Regions from separate parts of the Homo sapiens genome. Here region 1 is linked to region 2. The links are contacts of gene promoters, found by promoter capture Hi-C in blood cells and fetal thymus (Javierre and others, 2016). All regions are on one chromosome and are shown on one strand. Each heading gives the region's core, a stretch centred on a gene start or on the middle of the fragment in contact. The rest is flanking DNA. Distances are from core to core; before and after follow the strand shown. Region 1 overlaps ATP8B1-AS1 (ATP8B1 antisense RNA 1). Region 2 holds the start of ATP8B1 (ATPase phospholipid transporting 8B1).

The links. The method cuts DNA at HindIII sites, captures the fragments that hold promoters and counts their contacts. A CHiCAGO score of 5 or more calls a contact.
Region 1: a contact is called between a fragment that was not itself captured here and the fragment with the promoter of ATP8B1 in region 2, in 4 of 17 cell types (M0 macrophages, endothelial precursors, M2 macrophages and 1 more). The highest score is 7.7, in M0 macrophages.

The regions. Positions count from the first base shown.
Region 1 is chr18:57,632,764-57,638,331 of GRCh38, forward strand. All of the region lies in intron 1 of ATP8B1-AS1 (ATP8B1 antisense RNA 1), which reads left to right. Among named protein-coding and RNA genes, the nearest start is that of ATP8B1-AS1, 5.2 kb to the left of the region's middle. RefSeq lists an enhancer at 107-955. The HindIII fragment of the contact is 5,144 bases long and covers 1-3,864 here.
Region 2 is chr18:57,799,681-57,805,250 of GRCh38, forward strand. It overlaps ATP8B1 (ATPase phospholipid transporting 8B1), which reads right to left and starts at 3,635. Exons shown (of 28, transcript NM_001374385.1): 1 at 3,318-3,635. RefSeq lists an enhancer at 3,255-3,892. The HindIII fragment of the contact is 11,863 bases long and covers 1-5,570 here.

The sequences.
Region 1 (5,568 bases), core at 43-2,542, 170 kb before region 2:
CTTCCCAGTAGGGGCGGCTGGGCAGAGGCGCCCCTCACCTCCCGGACGGGGTGGCTGGCCGGGCAGGGGGCTGACCCCCCCACCTCTCTCCCGGACGGGGCGGCTGGCCGGGCGGGGGGCTGACCCCCCCACCTCCCTCCCGGACGGGGCGGCTGGCCGGGCAGAGGAGCTCCTCACTTTCCAGTAGGGGCGGCCGGGCAGAGGCGCCCCTCACCTCCCGGATGGGGTGGCTGGCCGGGCAGGGGGCTGACCCCCCCACCTCCCTCCTGGACGGGGTGGCTGCCGGGCGGAGACGCTCCTCACTTCCCAGACGGGGTGGCTGCCGGGCGGAGGGGCTCCTCACTTCCCAGACGGGGTGGCTGCCCGGCGGAGGGGCTCCTCACTTCTCAGACGGGGCAGCTGCTGGGCAGAGGGGCTCCTCACTTCTCAGACAGGGCGGTTGCCAGGCAGAGGGTCTCCTCACTTCTCAGACGGGGCGGCCGGGCAGAGATGCTCCTCACATCCCGGACGGGGCGACAGGGCAGAGGCGCTCCCCACATCTCAGACGATGGGCGGCCGGGCAGAGACGCTCCTCACTTCCTAGATGGGATGGCAGCCGGGCAGAGACGCTCCTCACTTTCCAGACTGGGCAGCCAGGCAGAGGGGCTCCTCACATCCCAGACGATGGGCGGCCAGGCAGAGACGCTCCTCGCTTCCCAGACGGGGTGGCGGCCGGGCAGAGGCTGCAATCTCGGCACTTTGGGAGGCCAAGGCAGGCTGCTGGGAGGTGGAGGTTGTAGCGAGCCGAGATCACGCCACTGCACTCCAGCCTGGGCACCATTGAGCACTGAGTGAAGGAGACTCCGTCTGCAATCCCGGCACCTCGGGAGGCCGAGGCTGGCGGATCACTCGCGGTCAGGAGCTGGAGACCAGCCCGGCCAACACAGCGAAACCCCGTCTCCACCCAAAAAATACGAAAACCAGTCAGGCGTGGCGGCGCGCGCCTGCAATTGCAGGCACTCGGCAGGCTGAGGCAGGAGAATCAGGCAGGGAGGTTGCAGTGAGCCGAGATAGCAGCAGTACAGTCCAGCTTCGGCTCGGCATCAGAGGGAGACCGTGGAAAGAGGGGAGAGGGAGAGAGAGGGAGAGGGAGAGGGAGAGCTGCTTCTTATTTTTATTTATTTTATTTATTTATTATTATTATTTTTTTGAGACGGAGTTTTGCTCTTGTTGCCCAGGCTGGAGTGCAATGGAGCGATCTCAGCTCACCGCAACCTCCGCCTCCTAGCTTCAAGTGATTCTCCTGCCTCAGTCTCCCAAGTAGCTGGGACTACAGGCATGCGCCACCGTGCCCAGCTTATTTTGTATTTTTAGTAGAGACGGGGCTTCTCCATGTTGGTCAGGCTGGTCTTGAACTCTCGACCTCAGGTGATCTGCCTGCCTCGGCTTCCCAAAGTGCTGGGATTACAGGCGTGAACCACCACGCCCGACTATTTTTTATTTGTTCTTTTGAGACAGGGGTGATCCTCCCACCTCAGCCTCAAAAGTAGCTGGGACTTCAGGCACACACCATCACACCTGGCTAATTTTTTTTTTTTTTTTTTTTTGTAGAGACGGGGTTTGGGGGTTTTGCCTTGTTGCCCAGGTTGGTCTCGAACTCCTGGGCTCAAGGGATATGCCCACCTTAACCTCTCAAAGTGTTAGGATTACAGGTGTGAGCCACTGCGCCCAGCCCTATTGCTTTTTAAAGGTACAATTAACTTTAGCCCAGGCTAGCTTTTTCACTGAATTGATCTGGGTACGATGTGGGGTTTGGGATAGCTGTTCAGAAAGGTGAAGACAGAGTCAAAGAGAGAAAAACATTTTCTCTATAGAGGTGGGGAAACTTTCAGAGAGAATTAATTGTGTCCTCTAAAAGCAATGAAGTCCGCTTGGTTAGTTTGAAGAACGATCATGTATCAGTTTATAGGAATTGAGACTTTTTTTTTTTTTTTTGAGATGAAGTCTTTCTCTGTCCCCCAGGCTGGGGTGCAATGGCATGATCTCAGCTCACTGCACCCTCCACCTCCCAGGTTCAAGCAATTCTCCTGTCTCAGCCTCCCAAGTACCTGGGATTACAGGCGCCTGCCACCACGTCTGGCTAATTTTTGTATTTTTAGTAGAGATGGGGTTTCACCATGTTGGACAGGCTGGTCTTGAACTCCTGACCTCAAGTGATCCGCCTGCATTGGTCCCACAAAGTGCTGGGGTTACAGGCGTGAGCCACCATGCCCGGCCGGAGTTGAGGCTCCAAGGGGTCTCGGGGGGTCTCAGAAGCTCAGCTGATGATATCTTAATCAGGTTTGGGTTTTTTTTTTTTTCTGTTAGAACAGGTCATAAAAATACTTTCACCCCAAGCCACAAAATCCTATAAAATAGCTCAGTCTTTGACAAATACAGTGAATATAAAAGAGCTCTTTTGAGTTTCTATTTACTCAAGATGTTTGCAGTGATAAAATCTTGATATAAGTTTTCTAGAATCTTGAACTTTCAAAGCTCCTTTAGAAACAGTCCTTTGTGTTGTTTTTATTAAACTCTTCAATGAACACAAAGTTTTTATGTTGTTCACACAAAATTTAAATAAGGAAGCTGAAGGTAGGTGGGAACCCCCAAATGGATGGTAATAGAAAACCTCCTATAGCATTTCCATAGACTGGTTTATTCATTATGCAGCTTGGCTCAGCAGAACCATTTTATAATGAAACTGCAAGATGACTCCCAGTGGGCAAATCAACCTCTATTCTAAAGGTTGATTCTTGTCAACTGGGAGAATTGATTCCTGATGAGAAATGCTAGACTAAAAAACCCTCCCACATTCACTTCACAAGCCAGATCCAATATCTTTAATCCTCTTATGGAAAAGAAACAAGGAGACATTTCAGGGCTTACAACAGCCTTCCAGAATAATTGCAACAGTCTCACAGCATCAGGGGCCAAAGGAATATTGACATCTTTCCAACTGGAAATCCTAAACCGGTTATCTGGAGTGAGACAATCTATGTCTTAAACTTGGCCAGAGCACCTTGGATTTTTTTTTTTTTTTTTTTTTTTTTTTTTTTTTTGACGGAGTCTTGCTCTGTCCCCCAGGCTGGAGGGCAGTGATGTGATTTTGGCTCACTGCAACCTCCGCCTCCTGGGTTCAAGCGATTCTCCTGCCTCAGCCTCCCCGTAGCTGGGACTACAGGCATGCGCCACCATGCCTGGGTAATATTTTTGTACTTTTAGTAGAGACAGGGTTTCACCATGTTGATCAGGCTGGTCTCCAACTCCTGACCTCAAATGATCCACCCACCTCAGCCTCTCAGCGTGCTGGGATTACAGGCGTGAGCCACCGCGCCAGGCCAGCACCTTGGATTTTAACCACCATCCTAGATCAGGAAGTTTAAATTTCTCTCCATGTTAAAATTTTCCTTTCTCATATTGTTAATACATTACTATTTGATTAATACAAATTACTATTTGTTAATACAAATACATGCTATTTGATTCAGGTTTTGAAGCAAAATTCCTGATAATTTTAAAACTATGAGAGTTATTTCTTTCTATGCATCTTATTGCTGAGGTCATCTTAGCTGATCATTAATTGGACAATATAGTGGTAAATCCATACTGGTCTTTGACTCTGAAAACATTCTTTCAAATTCCATTGGTGCTTTCCACTGTTTTGACACGACTTTAAGATGTTATCCAGACTCTTCTGAGCGCAAAGAATATGTGTCTGCATATAAATGGCCTAACAAAACACACCACTCTGTCTATAGCCATGAACAGGAAGTCCCCATCTCTGGGCACTGCCAGTCACCCAAGAGGACAATGTGAAGAGCTGGGGTTGCTGCTCTAGGGAGAAGCTTGTGGGCTTGGGCGAGTTTCAGTTTGGGAGTCTTTGTGACTTAAGCAGGAAAAATATTAACTCAGATTACTCCCTTTGGCCTAAAAATCATTTCTATTTTTTATTGTTTAATTTTTGAAATAGAAAATGTATTCATATGGTTCAATATTTTTAAAGTATGAAAAGATAATTCAATATTTAAAAGTCTCACTCCTCATAACAACTGTAGTCTCTTTTTTTTTTTTTTTGAGACGGAGCCTCACTGTGTCACCCAGGCTGGAGTGCAGTGGCGTGATCTCGGCTCACTGCAACCTCTGCCTCCCGGGTTCAAGTGATTCTCTGCCTCAGCCTCCCGAGTAGCTGGGATTGCAGGCATCTGCCACCACGTCCGGCTAATTTTTATATTTTTAGTAGAGACGGGGTTTCACCATGTTGGCCAGGCTGGTCTCGAACTCCTGACCTCGTGATCCACCCGCCTCAGCCTCCCAAAGTACTGGGATTACAGGCGTGAGCCACCGCGCCTGCCCTACTAGTCTCTTTTATATCTAGAGATTCTTGTTGAAAATATGACTATATTCCTCTAAATCTACCTCCTTTATTCCTTCCCTTAAAACGGCCTTTTTTTTTTTTTTTAGGCATAAATAATATACAACAGCCTGGGCACTGTGGCTCATGCCTGTAATCCCAGCACTTTGGAAGGCTGAGGTGGGCAGATCGCCTAAGGTCAGGAGTTCAAGACCAGCCTGGCCAACACGGTAAAACCCCATCTCTACTGAAAATACGAAAATTAGCTGGGCATGGTGGCGCATGCCTGTAATCCTAGCTACTCAGGAGGCTGAGGCAGGAGAATCTCTTGAACCTGGGAGGCAGAGGTTGCAGTGAGCCAAGATTGTGCCCCTGCACTCCAGCCTGGGCAACAGAGACCGCATCTCAAAAGGAAAAAAATATATATGACAAAGTGTACACATTTAAAATGTGCAATTTGATATGTTTTAACATATGTGTATACCTGTGAAACCATCACCACAATTGGGGTTAGGGAAAAAATCCATCACCCCAAAAAGTTTTCTTTTTTTTTTTTGAGACAGAGTCTTGCTCTGTTGCCCAGGCTGGAGTGCAGTGGCCTGATCTTGGCTCACTGCAAGCTCCGCTTCCCAGGTTCATGCCATTCTCCTGCCTCAGCCTCCCGATTAGCTAGGACTACAGGCACCCACCACCATGCTCGGCTAATTTTTTGTATTTTTAGTAGAGACGGGGTTTCATCGTGTTAGCCAGATGGTCTCGATCTCCTGACCTCGTGATCCACCGGCCTCAGCCTCCCAAAGTGCTAGGATTACAGGCGTGAGCCACCGCGCCTGGCCTACCAAAAAGTTTTCTCATGTATTTCCCTAGTGACTAATGATGTTGAGCATCTTCTCATGTGCATTTTTGCTTTACCTGTATCTTCTCTGTTGAAGTATCTGTTCAGATCTTTTGTGAGGACAAGGTACGGGGTTCCAGGTAGGGATCCAAGTTCATTTTTTCGCATGTGGATATCAAATGTCCCGGCACCATTTATTGAGATGGCCATCCTTTCTCTACCTCATCGCTTTTGTAACCTTGTTCAATATCAGTTGTCCATTGATGTATGGATTTATTTATGGACTCTATTAGGTTCCATTGATCTATCTGCCCTCTTTAAGCCAATACTATGCTGTTTTGATTGCTATAGCTTTATAACA
Region 2 (5,570 bases), core at 2,385-4,884:
GGCGACAGAGCAAGACTCTGTCTCAAAAAAAAAAAAAAAAAGAAAATGAGAAACAAGACTAATATATACATATACACACGTATATAGACATGCTCATATCTATATACATACATGCACATATATATGCTTTCAGAATCTTCCTAAACAATACCAGGTCTTCAGTGATAGAGGACCTCAAAAGATCTTAGATTAGGTATTACTTTTAGCTGGGCATGGGAATGGGGATTCAGGAGTAACTTGGTTAACAAAATGAAAAATATAACCTGTCTTCTTTTTATGGTATTAACACTCTTCTGGCAGCAAATTAATTTTTTACTTAATAAGAAACAAAAAACCTACAGGCATGAATACAATTAATCTAACTGAATGTCAACAGACCTGAAAACTCACAAGATACCTAAAGACACCACTAAGAAAAACTTTCCAGGAGACTAAACTAGAACCAAGTGTACAAATAAACTCTAAAATTAAGTGCTTAAGCAATTTAAAAGGCATCTCTTTTTAGAGAGATTTGGGACATAAATTGTTCTGGGGCCAGGCACAGTGGCTCACACCTGTAATCCCAGCACTTTGGGAGGCCAAGGCAGGAGGATTGCTTGAGGCCAGGAGTTTTAGATCAGCCTGGGCAACATAACAAGGCCCTGTCTCTATGTATTTTATTTATAAAAAATTTTAAAAAACAACTTGTTCTGGTACCTAAAAAGCAAGTTCCTCTGCATTCATGAGTGCATCGGTTTCTTTTTCAGTAACCGACACTAAAGAGCAAAGGTAACTAGGAAAAATCTCTCTGGAGTTGTTAGAATTACCTGCATTCTGTGAATGTTGCTTATAAAAAACTAAAATGGAATTTTAATTCATAAGGCAATAAAATCTTAAAAATATACCAGATACCTGCAATAATAGTATTTTTAGATATCAATCTAATAAAGAAAGTAAGAAACCAACATTCAAACACTGACTATATATAAAGAACATTCATATGTTCTCTGATTTAATTCTTTCAACAATCCAAAGAGATTGATAATATCTTTTCCCCTCAACAGAGCAGCAAACAGAGGTTCAGAAAACAAGAATTCATTTAAGGTTATACAATTAATAAGGAAAAGAACTGAAATCTGTGGGCATTTTTATATTTTCCACTACTCCTTGCTTCAAAAGGATGGAAAAGAAAGAGGAAAGAGGAATGGACGGAAGGAAAGGAAAAGAACATTCTACAGCCAGATCTGGTAGTGACTCCATTAGCACTAAGATCCCCTAGACTGAAAATCAGATTAAACATAAAATCAGTCCTGAACTTGCCTTACCACCGAAGACTTCTTTTTGCGAAGCCATTTGCTGTACCACATTATTATTTTTAAACTTCTATTGAACAAAAAACAAAACAAAACCTCTCCCAGTTCTATCACTAGGATGTAATAACATGTGCACACAGGTGTGTGTGTTCCTTAAAATCCATAAGGAAAACTTGAAAGCAGCCAGAGCTGACCTCACACAGGTGGCATCTGTGTTGGACAGTAATAACCAAAAGAGTCTTGCTCGGCCCTTAATAACCCACGCAAAGAATCACTAAAAGTTACTAAAATACAGCCACTGGAAAACGACGAATGAACAAAGTGGTTAATGTTCCTTCCCAAAATTATAGCAAGGAAAACTCCACCACCTAATGAAAATCATTAAGAGAATTCAGAGGAGTTAACTGCAGGCAGGCGTGACTTCTCCCCCAGAAAGTAATCAGCTAATAAGCATTAATCATCTTGTGCACAGTCTGCGCATTTATAATAGGGTTTAATAAAGCCTTCAACAACAGGCCCAGAATTAATGAACGGCATCTTAGGTCTAACACAAAAGTATTCCTTAGCGGACGAAAATTAGCGCTTCTACTTCACATTTGCTGTCGTGTCCCCCATATATACGGGCTCGTATTCACTATCCCTGGAGGCTTTATCACGCGTGGTTTTTTTTAGCTTTTGTTCCTGAAAGCAGTTAACCTTCATCGATAACCTACCGTGTGCCGGGTGATCTCCAAACATCCCACTAGTTTTTTCTTTTTTTAGTTTCCCATGGGTAGTGGCAAAATTTTGAAGGCAATGCAACCAGGAAGATGGGAGCGAATATTTTCTCACGCCAACAGGGAGGCCAGTTTCCGGGAGAGGAACTCGGCGGCGTCTGGAGCTACCCAGGAAGAGCTTGCAGCCCCCAAGGGCAGCGCGTGCAGGCCAAGGGGGTCGGGTAGGGTTGAGCGGGTACTCACCGGGCAGAAGCGCGGCCCAAGTCCTCCTTACTTCTGCGTGTCAATCCCCCTTCCCCAATTTGCATCCTTACTGCAATCCAGTCTCCCCCGTACAACCGTCACGGATCTGCGCTCCGAGCACCGCCCCCCCCCGCAACCAGCCACCAACCCCCGGCAGGGACCACAGGCACACGCCTCCGTCGGAAAAGTTGGGCAGACACTTCAGAACTTTTCTTTCACTTTGGGGAGAAGGAGGGAGTTGGAGAAGTGGGGGCGAGGGGTGTTAAAGCACTGGGCCATTCTCTGCAACATCTCCCCGCGCCCCCCAACAAGTTGCCCCTCCTCGTGCACACAGCGAGGTGACAGCGCAGGGCACCAAACTGCTGAGGGAAGGAGATGCCTGCAGCCATCTCAGCGGGGCTGGCGGACGCGACCCGACAGTCACCGGAAAAACAGTGGTGTCGGTCTTCCCCATCACCTCCCCTCCCCATCCCACAATAAAGCGCACGGAAGATGTCTGGGAGTACCTGGCCCTGCCACAGGAGCTGGGGAGGAGAGCGATCTCACCCCCTCCATCCCTCCCGGCAGGTGGGCCGCGGTCAGATACGTTTGGCCCGCAAGTCCTTTTCGGACACGTTGGCATCTGCTCCCAAAGAGCGCCCCAGCAGGACCCGGTCACCGGGGTCTTCCAGAGGGGCGGTAGCCACCGCACAGGAGCCAGCGGCATCCCCCAAGGAGCCGCAAGCCCTACCTGGCTTAACCCCCGGACATGTGTGTCGCTACCGATCGAAGAACCCAAACACCCCGAGATTTCCCTCCTCTAGGCAGGTGAAAACCCCACGGAACTCTCCGCAGCGCTGCCTGCCCAGCCGGCCGTGTCTCGCCGTCCCCGAGGCCTCGGGGGCTCCCAGCACCTCCACCCAAATCCCACCTGTGCGGGCTCGGGAGTCCGAGGGCGCTGACAGCTGCTGCCGCCGCATCCCGGATCTCCAAAGTGCGGCGGGAGCGGCCAGGGAACCTGCAGGACACCGCCGGGCCAAGGGGCTTGGGAAGGTCTGGGGGCCCCCGGCGCCGCACCCCTGCTTACCTGGCGTTCGCTGGGCCCCGGCTGGGGCATCCGCCTGGTGCGCGCCGCTCGGAGCGCTCGCTGCGCACCTGGCCGCTGCCGCCGCCCGCCCGGCCCCAGCCCTGGCCGCCGCGCTAGCGCTGCATGGCGCACGGGGGCTGGCCGGGGGCCCGGGGAAGCGTGTCTAGTTGGCGGCGGCACCTCCGGCTCTCGCGGCTCGCTAGTGGCTCCCCCGCCTTTCCCCGCCCCGCGTCCGTGCACCCTTCCTCTGCAGCCGCCCTTTTGCCTCCGCTCCGCCGGACCGGCCAAACTGGTTTCTCCGCTCGGGGAGGTGCCTCTGGTTTCCCTCCAGCAGCCGCGGCCGCCGAGCCTCGCTGGGGCTGGGGCTGGGGCTGGAGGCGGGCTCGGCCTTCTCCCCTCCCTTTTTCCCTCCCTAGGGCGGAGAGGGGCTGGACTGCAAGCCCCGGGGCGGCCCGAGGCGGCCCAGGTCCAGCTCCTGCCCCACGCCCTCCGTGCGTCCTGGAGTCAGGTGGGCACCCCTTTCAGTCTTCCGAGCCCAGCCTACGAGCCCTTGCCTCGCCCAGCCTGAGACCCAGTTGCTGCGGCTGCTCTTAGCTCCCCGGGGGCCGCACTCGCCACCACACCTCTCCAGCCCAGCGTCACTTTCCCGCTGCCCTTGGCTGGCTTGGCCGTCACCCCGGGTCGAGGACTGAGCCAGCCTGGAAAGCTGGCGGGGCCGCGGCGCGCCCGGGACCTGAGCTCCCTCGGTAAGGGGAGCTGTGTCCTCTTGATGCCAAGTCATGTTTGGGGACCGGTCACCGAATGCGCGTCAAAGTTCGCCGCGTGGAGGGTGAAGAAAGAGGCTGCGCCTCAAGACTTCCAGAAACGTATCCTGTGATTGCAGCCAGCAGGCTTTCTGCCGAGTCCAAACGCTATCGAGTTTTTTTGGGTTTGGAGTCAAAAGGAGTTAAGGTGCGGCCCGTGAACCACGCGGTGTAGGTGGAAATTTTGGACTCAGCGCCTCGTTGCTGGCTGGTGTCTGAGCGGGTGAATCGTGCCTCCCTGGCAGTATAGACATTACCCTCCTTCTTGAGTAGACTTTTGCCGCTCCCCGACTATGGACCGAGTCGTTGGGATAAGAATGGAGGAAAATCAAAGATCAGAGTTTGCTTAAAATGCAGTAGGGGAGCCAGGACTCCCACACGATTCCCAGTCACCTAGAGGCTCACATCTATGCCCAAGAGTCCAGACTCCCAACTGGGTCATCACAGAGGCTTCCTACAGGAGGCCGTGCTTGATGGGACTCAAAGATCCACAGCTTTAAGGATCAGAGTTGTGTAGAGAGGGTATTCAACGGGTGGCCAACTGGTAGAATCTTGTCTGATACCAACCCCGAGGCTGCTCTAGGCTTCTTTTTCATGAGTCAAACTTGATCTCTGACTAGGTGCTGGTCAGTCACTCAATCTATCCAGGCCTCAGTTTCCTCATTTGTAAAATGAGATTGGACCAGATGGTCTCTTCCAGCACTTATATTCTGAAGCTAACGACAGAACAAAGGTACCGATGCAAGAGAACATAGGGCCTGTTGGTGACACTGGTTGATCTAAGACATTTAGACTTGTTTTTGGTAGCACCTGCAAACCGTTGACAATTTAGGACCGAGCATGAGCATGATCAAGGTTGTGTTTTAGGGAAAATAATAGGGAGATAGTCTAGAGAGGATAAAACTGAAGATGGGAGAATCACTTGAGAGGCTGGGACAGCGACATACGGAGGAGTTGCCAGGGGAAGTAAAAAGGAGGAAATTCAAGGGACACCACAGAAGAGAGATAGGGCACGAAGTGGCCACAACCTGCAACTGACTGGGAGAGGGGAGCAATGGAAGGTGAGCCAGGTTCTCAAGACTGGGTTATGGCATGCAAGGAGCAGCAGACTCCAAAGGAGGGAAGCCGTTTAGGAAGACTCTGCCCCTATCTGGATAAATGCCAGCAAACCTAGGAATCAAGAGGGGATTCCAGACTAAAGGGGGCACCCCCTCCTTGCAGATCCACTACCAAGTGCTCAACCTGTCCAAGAAAATGTTACATAGAAGAGACTAAACAAGGACGCATCCAATCTACACCTGTACCTAGATCTGATCAATACCATTCTGATGTCTGCATTTATTTACTTGTTTATTTATTTATAGAGACAGGGTTGGGTTTCACTATGTTGCCCAGGCTTGTCTTGAACTCCCCAGTTCAAGCGGTCCACCTGCCTCAGCCCCCCAAGGTG